Regions from separate parts of the Homo sapiens genome. Here all the other regions are linked to region 3. Evidence: promoter capture Hi-C in 16 types of primary human blood cells and fetal thymus (Javierre and others, 2016). All regions are on one chromosome and are shown on one strand. The core of a region is centred on a gene start or on the middle of the fragment in contact, and the rest is flanking DNA. Distances in the headings are between cores, read along the strand shown.

Region 1 (3,903 bases), core at 983-3,482, 2.6 Mb after region 3:
AGCCAAACAATTTTAGTAAGCTCAGGATTCTTTAACTCTTTTCTTTTTTAAAAACAAAATGGGGGAACGTAGACACAAACTAGATATCACTAGATGATACCAGAATCAGAGCTAAACCAGTGCATGTCCATCCTTGCAGTTAAAGGCACCCTCAAAGACACCTACCACACTTTACTGATGCTTTGAGGCACATATGTTCCTAGATGCTCCAAGCACTACAATGAAGGATTTAAACAGCAGTAAAGTACATAAATCAGTAAAATTGAAATAGAGATGTGTGTTGATAAGGGAAGGGAGACAACTGAGAAAAAAATCACCTCAGCTTGATAAGTTATTTACCAGATCAGAAAATGTCCCTCTACACATAAAGATGTCCTTACCTTCAAATCTTACATTGATCCTTGAGACTGTGATCTATTTTGTGACCACTGAAAGCACCAGCATTATTAGAAGCAGTCAGAGGGTTTGAGTCTGGATGATGCCAAAAGATTATCCATATGGTCTCAGGAAAACATTCAGAACATAGGCCTAGTCTCCAAACTGGTAACCTAAAAGTGCACACATTATTTATAATGCTGCCACCCTCTGACAACAAACCCACTGTATTAATGGGGGAAATGGAGGCTCTTTAATAGACGCAACAGAGAAAATCCAACTAATGAAATGCTAATAACCTCTTTTGTGACTGGCCTGGGCCTTGGCAAAGGAAGTGGTTTTCGAATATGAGCTCACATTTAATCACTTTGTACTTATTAAAAAATGCAGGATTCCAAGATAATATCCCCAGGAAACCATAGATGTTTTTATATTTATATAAATGTGTATGTGCATATGTACATACACACACACACACACATATATATATTTGTGTTTGTTATGTATTTATACACACATACATCCATACCTGCCATGAGTTGAAGGTGTTCCCCAAAAAGCATGTTGGAAATTTAATAACCAATGCAACAACATTGGGAAGTGGGGCCTAACGAGAGGTGTTTTGGTCAGAAGAGCTCCATACTTATAAATGGAATAATACTGTTTATGAAAGACTTCAGCCTGCATGTCCTATCACTTGCTTTCTCATGCATGTGCATTTTTGTCCTTCCACCATGGGAAGCAGCAAGAAGACTGTCACCACATGCAGGATCTTTGACATTGGACTTCCCAGCCTCCAGAACCTTAAGATCTGTTCTTTATAAATTACTCCATCTCAGGTATTCTGCTATGCAACCCCAAACAGATTAAGATAAATAAATGGTACTGGGAAGTGGGACTGTTGCTATAACAAATACCAGAAGATGTGAGAAGGGCTTTGAAACAGGGTAAAGAGTAGAGACTGGAAGAATTTGGAAGAGCAGGCTATAAAAGCCTAGCTTACTATACAGGGAGCATTAAGGGTGCATCTTCTGAGGGCTCAGAAGAAAAGAAGAGTTGTAAAAAGAACCTAAATCTTCTTACAGATTATTTAAGTGGTCATCATCAGAATACTGGGAGAAATACAGAAAGTAAAGATCATTTTGATGACATCTCAGGTGGAAATAACAAAGTATTGGAAACTGAAGTAGAGGCCATCCTTGTTATTCAGTCACCAAGAAGTTGGCAGAATCCTGTCCATGTCCTAGGACTTCATGAAGGTAGAATTTAAGAGCTATGAGCTAGCAGGTCTGGCAGAAGTAATATTTAAGCATCAAAGTACTCAAGATGCTGCATGGCTTCTATTAGCTGCTTACAGTAAAATAAGAGAAGGAGACAATAATGTAATGATGGAATTTATCATTAAAAGGGAAACAGAATAGAAAGATTTAGAAAAATCTCAGCCTGGCCATGTAAAGAATTAAAAAGTGTGTTCAGCAGAGAATATTAAGTGTGTGGCCAAGTGACTCTTTGCTAATGAGATTAATATGGGTAGAAGCAAGCCAGGTTCTATTGATTAAGACAATAGAAGAACGACCTTAAAGGCATTTCACAGACCTTCAAGGCAAGATAGGACTTGCCTTGTTTTCAGAGCAAAGTTTTCAGAGAGGTGGCTACAGGACCTCAGGATTCACTGCCCTTTGCTTTAGGACTCTGCTCTCTGAATGCAGTGCCTCTTGGCCATCCTAGTCTTGGCTCAAGTGGACCCAAGTGAGGCTTGAGCCACCAAAGGTACAAGCTGTAAATCCTGGCAGCATCCTCATGGTACTAATTCTGCAGGTGCACAGCGGGCAGGAGCTCTGGGACCATGGCAACGTCTACTTAGATTTCAAAGCATGTTACAGACAGACTGGAGACCATGGCAAAGACTTGCCGCAGAGGCAAACCCACTGCAGAAAGTCCCCACTAGGGCAATGCCTAGTGGAGTCATGAGAGTGGAGTAGCCTCCAAGACCTCAGAACTGCTGAACCATCAATATGCTGCTCCAGCCTGGGAAAGCCACGGGTATAAGACTCCAACCCATGAGAGCTGCTAGGTGGAGTAAGCCTGCTAAAGTCATAGGGATGGGCTGCCTGATGCTTTGGAGGTCCAATCCTTGTCCCAGTGTGCTGAGAAGGCAAGACACGGAGTTAAAAAAGTTATTCTCCAGCTTTAAGATTTACTGTTTTCCCCCTATTGGGTTTTGGACTTACTTGGGACTAGTTACCCCTCTTTTCTTGCCTATTTGTCCATTTTGGAATGAGAATGTCTACTCTATGCCAGTTCCATCACTGTAATTTGGAAGTAGATAACTTGCTTTCGTTTCACAGGCTGATAGTTGGAGGGCATTTGCCTCAAAATGAATCATGCCTTGACTCTCACCACCATTCTCTTTAGAGGAGACTCTCGACTTTGGCCTTATGAGTTGGTGCTGGAACAAACTAAAACTTTGGGGGTATTGAAATGAAAGTAATGCATTTTGCTTGTGAGAATGACATGAATTTCGGGGACCAGGGTTGGAATGCTATGGTTTGAATGTGGTCCCTAAAAGCATATATTGGAAACTTAATCTCTAATGCAACAGTGTGGGGTAGTGGGGCCTAATGGGAGGTGATTGTGAAGGGGGCTCCATCTTTATGAATGGATTAATAATGCCAATTATAAAAGAGTTGGGGGCTGTGAGTTCAGTCTCTTGATCTTTTGAGCATGTACTCCTTTGCTTTCCTACTATGGGGTGATGTAGCAAAAAGTTCCTCACCAGAAGTGGGTCACTTGATTTTTGGACTCCCCAGCATCTAGAACTATAAGAAACAAATATCTGTTCTTTGTAGAAACCAAAAACCAAATACCACATGTTCTCACCTATAAGTGGGAGCTAAACATTGGGTACACATGAACATGAAGATGGGAACAATATATACTGGAGAGTACTAGATTGGGAAGGGACAGAGTGGGACAAGGGTTAAAAAACTACCCATTGGGTACTATGATCACTACCTGAGTGACAGGATCAATCATACTAACAGCAGCATCATGCAATATACTCATGGAACTGACCTGCATATGTACCTCCTGAATCTAAAATAAAAGTCGAAATATTTTTTAAAAAAATAAAGAAATATGTATTTTTTATAAACCACCTTGCCTTGGGTATTCTGTGTCAGCAGTCCCAAAAAGACTAAGACAACACCCAAAAGCAAAAGTTGGTGGTCTGAGCTTCATTAACAACTTTTCAAAGTCCTCCTTTGTGAAAAAGCGGCAAAAATTAGCTTGATTATTGGAAAATATGATAGGCCTAATTGACATATTAAAAGTAACATGATGAAGTAGAGAACATTTTCCCAAGGTGGTTTTCCCTCTATTTACACATATAGTAAGTATGTGGGTGACGACCATATCATGCATGTGAATACATCCCTTGCCTCATCAAAAAAAGTGACCAAAGTGTATAAAAGGTCATACAGTATTGATTATACATGGTATCACAAAAAGAAGAAATCAAAGGACATT
Region 2 (3,583 bases), core at 1,065-3,564, 2.3 Mb after region 3:
ACACAGGCACCACAGGCCAATCAGCTGCTTGTTGGCTTTCTTGCTGTGCAGATATGCCTGTTTCCCAGGGAGGAGGGGATGTTGCATGGATTTGGGCCATTCCACTGGGCCTAAGCTTAAAGTAGCTGGGGTTGTAGTTCTGTGGCCTTCCTTGTGAGCATGGTGGAATGATGCTGGGGCCTCAGGGATGGAGAGACACAGTGGCTACTGGCCCCCAGAGTAGGACATACTCTAGCAGTCAGTCTGGTTTCAGGATGGTACTATGCAGTTCCAACTTAGGTCACGGGAGTTGGTGGGTATACGAAATGGGCTCCTAGTATAGGGCAACACAGCTATGTGAACTCCAGAAAGCTCCCCAGATAGAATTTGTTGACTGTGAGGCTTGCAGGACCCTCCCGTAGCAGCCTGCAGGCATCTGCAGTAGTAATGGGGACAACTGGTGTCTCCAGCTTACCTTTTCTCGATAAGCAGTAGCCCCTCCTGGCTATGAGCCAATCCCAGTGAGGGAACAATTTGGTAGAGTTTGTGTGTCTCCCTCTTCTTTTATGGTTCTATCCTGAGTTTCTGTGCTTCACAGGGATTTTTTCACTCCCCTTATGTTCCCCAGCATACTTCCTCAGTAACTTCCACTGAAATATAGTTGTTCATTTGTTATGTTGGAGGGGAACCCCACAACCCTTTTTGTGGGGATGAGTGCCAAACAACTCTGATTGACCATCTTGCTAACATTACTCTCCCTGTTCTATTTCTAAATTAAATTTAAAATGTATAGAAATAAATGCAAGATTTAGAAACTACATATTGGCAAATCTGCCTTCTCACTGCCAATAAGACACACACTCGAATTTAGTCTTCAGCAAGGGTGTAATATACAAAGGGCTAGACCTCAGAAAATATGCGTTTGAGTCCTAATTCTGGCCCCAATTTTAAAATCAATTATCCTTAGAACTTAATCTTTCTGAGCCTCTTTTTTTCTCCTGTGGTATGCAAAATGAATGTGAAGTTGATGACTATTAAATTATAAATTTCATTTATTCTACGCTAACCCTATTTTAAAAATCAATAAATATGTTACCTATGATTCAGCAAAGAACACTAGTATCAGTCAGTTTAATGTATTAAAGGATTCTTAAGTCTTTCATATATTAAAACTTATTTTCATTCTACAATGGTTATTGTTTTGTGTTTTTCTTACTAAACTATATCTTAATTTTATGTCATGTAATTGCATTAATTTTTATCAAAAATAATTACTGCAGAAAAAAGTTACTATAATTTTAACATAATTATTAAACTTCAGCTTACTATTTTAAAAACTACTTATTTATTTTGCTGTCAGACAAAATAGCACTTCTTATTTTTAGGCCTTAGTTTTTTTTTTAATTTTATTATTATGATACTTTAAGTTTTAGGGTACATGTGCACAACGTGCAGGTTTGTTACATATGTATACATGTGCCATGTTGGTGTGCTGCACCCATTAACTTGTCATTTAGCATTAGGTATATCTCTTAATGCTAGGCCTTAGTTTTAAACAGATTAAAATAATATTTTTAAGTGGTAAAAGAATAGATAGATAGATAGATTAGATATCTATATATATTCAGAAAGTAATTAGTATAGAAGTAAAAAAAAAGTGACAGTGTAGTGTTATACCTTTCTTGGCCCATTAGAAAAAGAATAACATAATCTAAGTTTTCATATTTGCAAAATTGGCAAAATCATTCTAAGCTTTGGGGTCAGGTGATACTAAGGGGTATTCTGAATGATGTAAATTCTAAAAATGTGACATGTTGTTGCTTGTAATGTTTACATTATGCTTCATTCACATTCCAAGATAGACTCTATTACCATGAGGCTTAAAAATTATATAGGAATAGAGATCAATGTCTCTAAAAGAGGGCTTGTTAACCTTTGCACTATTGATATTTTGGGGCAGTTACATGTTTTGTTTTGTATTGTTTTGGTTGAAAGCTGTCTTACCTACTGTAAGATTTTTACTAGTATTTCTGGCTTCTACCTAGTTAATGCAAATACCCACTCCACCTCTACTGTTACAATCAAATATGTCTTCGGACATTACGAATGTTCCTTGTGAGACAAAGTTAGGCTTGGTTGAAAACCACTGGTCTAGAATATACTGAACTGAAAATAATTTTAATGCCATTTACAGGTGGATGAGATTGAATGCAAGTTTTAGTTAAAAAATCATTTTTGCAGTTTTATGGATAAATAATTTATAATTTATCAAATAAAGTGTATAATTCAGTGGTTTTTATTGCATTCACACATTTGTGCAACCATCATCAAACTCTGGAACATTTGTATCACTTTAAAAGGAAACACTTGTCCTCATCAGCAGTCATTCTCATTATTCCCCCACCTTCATCTATCAGTCCCAGGCAAGCACCAAAATACTTTCTAACTCCATGAACTTACTTATTACATACATTATATAAAAATGGAATTTTACAATATCTTTTTGTAAGTTTTTGTCTAGGGTGTGACTGGATTTTCACTTAGTTTTCAAGTTGAATTTATGTTTAATGTAATATGTATCAATACTTCATTTATTTTTATTGCAAAATTATATTTCATTATATGTATATAACATATTTAATTTATCCAATCATCTTTTGCTTATTCTTTAGTTACTGAGAAAAACTGCATTATTCAACTATGACTGTAAATGTAGCTATTCATTATTTTTCTTCTATTGTTTATTTATTTTGTACTTTTTTGTTTTATTCATTTTGAGATTAGGTTATTAAATGCTTACAAAGTTATTTTTGTCATCTTTTTCTGTTGTTTTATCTTTTTATCATTATAAAATTTCAAACTTTATGTATAAATATTTCTTGCTTTTCAGTATAGTTTCTTTAGAATTACAAGCTTTGTTTTGATTAGGTTTATCATGTTCCGTAATTCTACTTTCAGTCTTTCTTATTTTTGTATTAAAGACACATCTCTTATCAGCAGAACACAGTTACATTTTGTTTCAGTATTCAATTTTAAATTGTTTGCCTACGAATTGCAGGATTTTGTCCATATTAACTTAATGTAATAGCTGAACTATTTGAGTTTAAATGGACTATTCTATGAATTTTTTAAAAATTTGTCCTATCTGCATAGGCATGAGCAAAGACTTCATGACTAAAACACCAAAAGCAATTGCAACAAAAGCCAAAATTGACAAATGGGATCTAATCAAACTAAAGAGCTTCTGCACAGCAAAAGAAACTATCATCAGAGTGAACAGGCAACTAACAGAATGGGAGAAAATTTCTGCAAGCCACCAATCTGACAAAAGTCTAATATCCAGAATCTACAAGGAACTTAAACAAGTTTACAAGAAAAATCAAGCAACCTCATCCAAAAGTGGGCCAAGGATATGAACAGACATTTCTCAAAAGAAGACATTTATGCAGCCAACAAACATATGAATAAAAGCTCATCATCACTGGTCATTAGAGAAATGCAAATCAAAACCTCAATGGGATACCATCTCACACCAGTTTAAATGGTGATTAAAAAGTCAGGAAACAACAGATGCTGGAGAGGATGTGGAGAAATAGGAATGTTT
Region 3 (3,678 bases), core at 1-2,500:
CGTTAAATCATTACGTAGTATATGTAATTGTTATTAACCTCATCGTAAAAGGTGATGCTATGATTCATGTTGCAGACATTATTAACTGGAACAAATAGGCGACACTATTTGGTTCGTTCTTATTTTGCAAATGGGCGAATTGAGGCCCGCAGCCATAAGTGATTTGACGAAGACCACAGACTGATTCGGAGACAGGAGGCAAAATGACACAGGAATGATTCACAAGCCTCTGTCACAAGGGAGTTTTCTGCTTGTAACTTATCAGGGAGGCAAATTTTCTGAAATCATTTTTTCAAATCTCAGATCCATGACTTTTCTGTTGAGCAATGCTGCTGCTTCCTCTCAGCCTCCGCCCACCACCACCACTACCATGTTTAGATGTTGTATTTCATTTAAGGATTTTTCAGTTTTCCTTCCTCGCTGAAAAAGTGATACTGAAATACACTACGAAAACTTTTGTCCTCCCTCCAAAACAAATATCTTACCAGTCACAACTCCACCATTATAACAGAATTATCTTCATTTTTTACATAGTCTTTCTTTTTTGCCACAGTGACTTGTTTTTACATAGCTGAAGTCATAATGAGTAGGCTAGTTTATATTCAGACAATTTTATTTACCAATTATAAGGCGTTTTCCATTCTGTGCAATCATCATTTCAAGTATGTTTCTGATTAATACTTGTTAATTTTGGAATGTAATGTACATATATGGAAACTACTGAAGTTATTGAAGTTGTATGTACATACATTGAAACTACTGAAGAAAATCAGCAATAATTCAACCACCCTCGGAATAACTGATGGATTTCCCCAGCCTTCACATATATGCTTCTTATTTTAAGAATTGAAACTAATGCTGCATGAACAGGTTTCTATTTGCTCCCTGCCCCCTTCGTTTAAAAACAAGGTGGAGACTAAAGGCTCTCAGCCTCAGTTTCTCCATATGCAAAATATCAGGATTAAATAAGTCATGCTAAGGGCTGGAACAAAGTGAGGGCTCTGCAGCGTGTACGCCGGGCACTCAGCCGTGGATGGCAGGGGACGGCGTTCTGTCCCCGGGACGGAGCGCAGGCCTGTAATTGTCCCTCCCGCCTAGGCCATCACTTTCAGGCTTGGGTACGCGCCGCCGTCTGCTCCCCTGGGGCCGCCAGGGGGCGCTGTGGCCCCGGTGCGCGGCAGCCGCGCGACACGGGCCCTCCCTCGGAGTCTTCGGCACCGCCCTGTCCCAGCCTCCTTTGCGGGTAAACAGACATGGCCGGCGAAGGAGATCAGCAGGACGCTGCGCACAACATGGGCAACCACCTGCCGCTCCTGCCTGGTAACCGCCCGGAGTAGTTCCCTGTAGTCGGGAGTGGGGCGAGGCTCGGAGCCGCTAGCGGTGCAGCTGGGCCTGGGAGGCGGGCGTGGGGGCGCCAAGCCTGGCGAGCCAGCCCAGCAGGGCCGCACCGGAAAGCTGCTTCACGTCGGCCCTCGGCCAGCGATGGAGTCGCGGCGCTTTCTTCGCTGCTCTGTTGCCCCGAGCCGTGAGCCAGGGTGTCGGGGGGAGCATTTGCTATTAAGAACAGGAAACCCATCCTCTCCATCCTCCTTGTGTTCTGAGTTTAGCTCCTAGGAAATGCTCTGAAACTAGAGGACCGGGTCAGATTCACAGCGGTTACTTTTGCTGGTCTCCTTCCTTTTAATAAGAGTGACAGCTAACATGTACTAAGCACTTACCATGTTACGAGCCGTGCAGTTAACGCTTTGCATGCATGTCGCCTTTTAATCCTTCCCACATCAGTTTTCAGTTTCCGATTTGATAAGCGAGTATTGGATTTGCAGATTAGTTCAATGACTTGCCCAAGGTCACACAGCAGAGTCAGGATTCCAACCCGGGTGTGTCTGTCATTATATCTCTAAACCACTTCTCTGTTTTGTTTTTCTTACTATCGGTCTTTCTCAGGCATGTACGATTATGCTTAATCAGAGATACTTAGTTTTTCTTTTTCCTGTATGTTGTGTGAAATGTTTAGACTTTGGCCTTGTGTTGAAATACTGAACAAAAAAAAAAATGCATGGAATATTGCATAAACTTTTCATGGAATGCCTTTCAAGAGATGCTTTCCAAAAGGTGTATCATCCAAACTTGAAAGTATTACTTGAGTCCCTTCGTTATATGACAAGTATGTTAGGTGTTGTGGAGATGAAACGAGAGGTAATACACAATCTGATAATTGAGGTTTACTGTCTAGGCGGGGCTGCTGAGAATATAACTAAACGTAAATCAACTGCAGAGGCGGTTGATTTAGGGCCAGATAAATGAATGCTGTTGTGGCTCTTCAGAGGCAGAGGTTGTTTAAGGGTCAGAGGATTTGGGAAAAAGCCTTTCAGGTAGATCAGGAGACATCTAAAAGCACATATTTAGGATATGGTTGTGGGACATAAGGCCTAGGAGGTATATTGGGTCTAAGTTGCTGGGAAACTGGCATCTCTTGCCAGTGGGTTTGGGTTTTTCCTGTGGATTGCCAAGAAACAGTTTTAGGTTTCAGGTAATTGCCTAAAGAAATCTATGCTTGGAAGATTAATTTGTCCACTGGTAGCAGCATGGATTAAAAGAGGAAGAGACTGAGTGCGTGCCCACCATATAGGAGAGAACTTTTCTGTAAAAATAAACCATAGTCACTGGTTGTTCTCGAAGCCATTCTAGCTGAGTTGACACAAGGGTAAGTGTGCCAGCCTTTGATGGAAAGCTGAGCTATTTTTTCAGAGACATTAGCCCTACTCTCTGTGCCAAATCCGGTGTTTCAGGGAGAATGGTGAATAGAAGAGGGAGGATACTGATCTTCTGTCGACATTCACATCGTGCCTCTGCATGAGATGAGTCATCAGACTTCACTGATAGCTCTGAACAGTCAGCGTGGTTTTTTGTTTGTTTTTTTTTTGTTTGTTTTGTTTTGTTTTTTGTTTTTCAGAAAAGCGTCGGGAGAGGGCCCAGAGATGGTGTAGATATAGCAATAATGCCTCTCCAAATTACGTAAATTTTATTTGTAGGGAAACACTGGGCTTTCCATAATTCCATGTAGTACGAGTTGTTCTGAAGAGTAAATCCTCTAAGTTCCAACAAAAAGCTTTATATTTGAGATGTGAAGAGTTTATCCTAGGCAAATGAAACATTAATAAACATAACTGAGTAGGGGAAAGTGGTTTTTAGCCATATTTATGAAAAAAAGGTTACTAAAGAAATTATTTAGAGACTAGGAGTCAGAACAGTTAAAATGTAAATTTTTAACAATATTAATTCCAGCCTTTGAGCTAATAGTTTATCTTTTAAACTTTCTGTAGTAGAGCAATAAAGTGGGTTGTGCTGCATGCCAAGTGATAGCCATACTGTCAGAGTTGGAAATACAAACAATTTGATGCAGAATATTTTTGTCATCCATTTAGATAGCTCTTTTTTTATCTCAGTGAAACTTACATGTTCCAAGGAAAATTTGTATGAAGTGTTAGACCATTGGCTATTTACATATAAGTTGAAGTAATTCTGTTTTTGACAAAGTTTTATATCTAGGAAGTTGTAATAATAAATAGAAAGTCCAAGGCAGTTACCATATTGAAAATCATTTTTATTTTCTGTCAGGGGCCTGGCTAGAGGTGGTTTGACTTAAATAATGATATGCAAAGGAAAACAAATGATTAT

Evidence for each region. Contacts are between HindIII fragments. The CHiCAGO score rates a contact against its expected background, and 5 or more counts as called.
Region 1: a contact is called between a fragment that was not itself captured here and the fragment with the promoter of CRBN in region 3, in 1 of 17 cell types (fetal thymus). The highest score is 8.7, in fetal thymus.
Region 2: a fragment that was not itself captured here is called in contact with the fragment with the promoter of CRBN in region 3 in 1 of 17 cell types (endothelial precursors); the score reaches 5.8 in endothelial precursors.

Annotation. Positions count from the first base shown.
Region 1 is chr3:626,557-630,459 of GRCh38, reverse strand. All of the region lies in intron 1 of LINC01266 (long intergenic non-protein coding RNA 1266), which reads right to left. Among named protein-coding and RNA genes, the nearest start is that of LINC01266, 36 kb to the right of the region's middle. The HindIII fragment of the contact is 5,117 bases long and covers 1-3,903 here.
Region 2 is chr3:897,338-900,920 of GRCh38, reverse strand. All of the region lies in intron 2 of LOC107986059 (a long non-coding RNA gene), which reads right to left. Among named protein-coding and RNA genes, the nearest start is that of CNTN6, 190 kb to the left of the region's middle. The HindIII fragment of the contact is 1,161 bases long and covers 1,734-2,894 here.
Region 3 is chr3:3,177,263-3,180,940 of GRCh38, reverse strand. CRBN (cereblon) reads left to right here and starts at 1,250. Exons shown (of 11, transcript NM_016302.4): 1 at 1,250-1,320. The coding sequence starts at 1,254. RefSeq lists a silencer at 1,017-1,186. The HindIII fragment of the contact is 7,719 bases long and covers 1-3,111 here.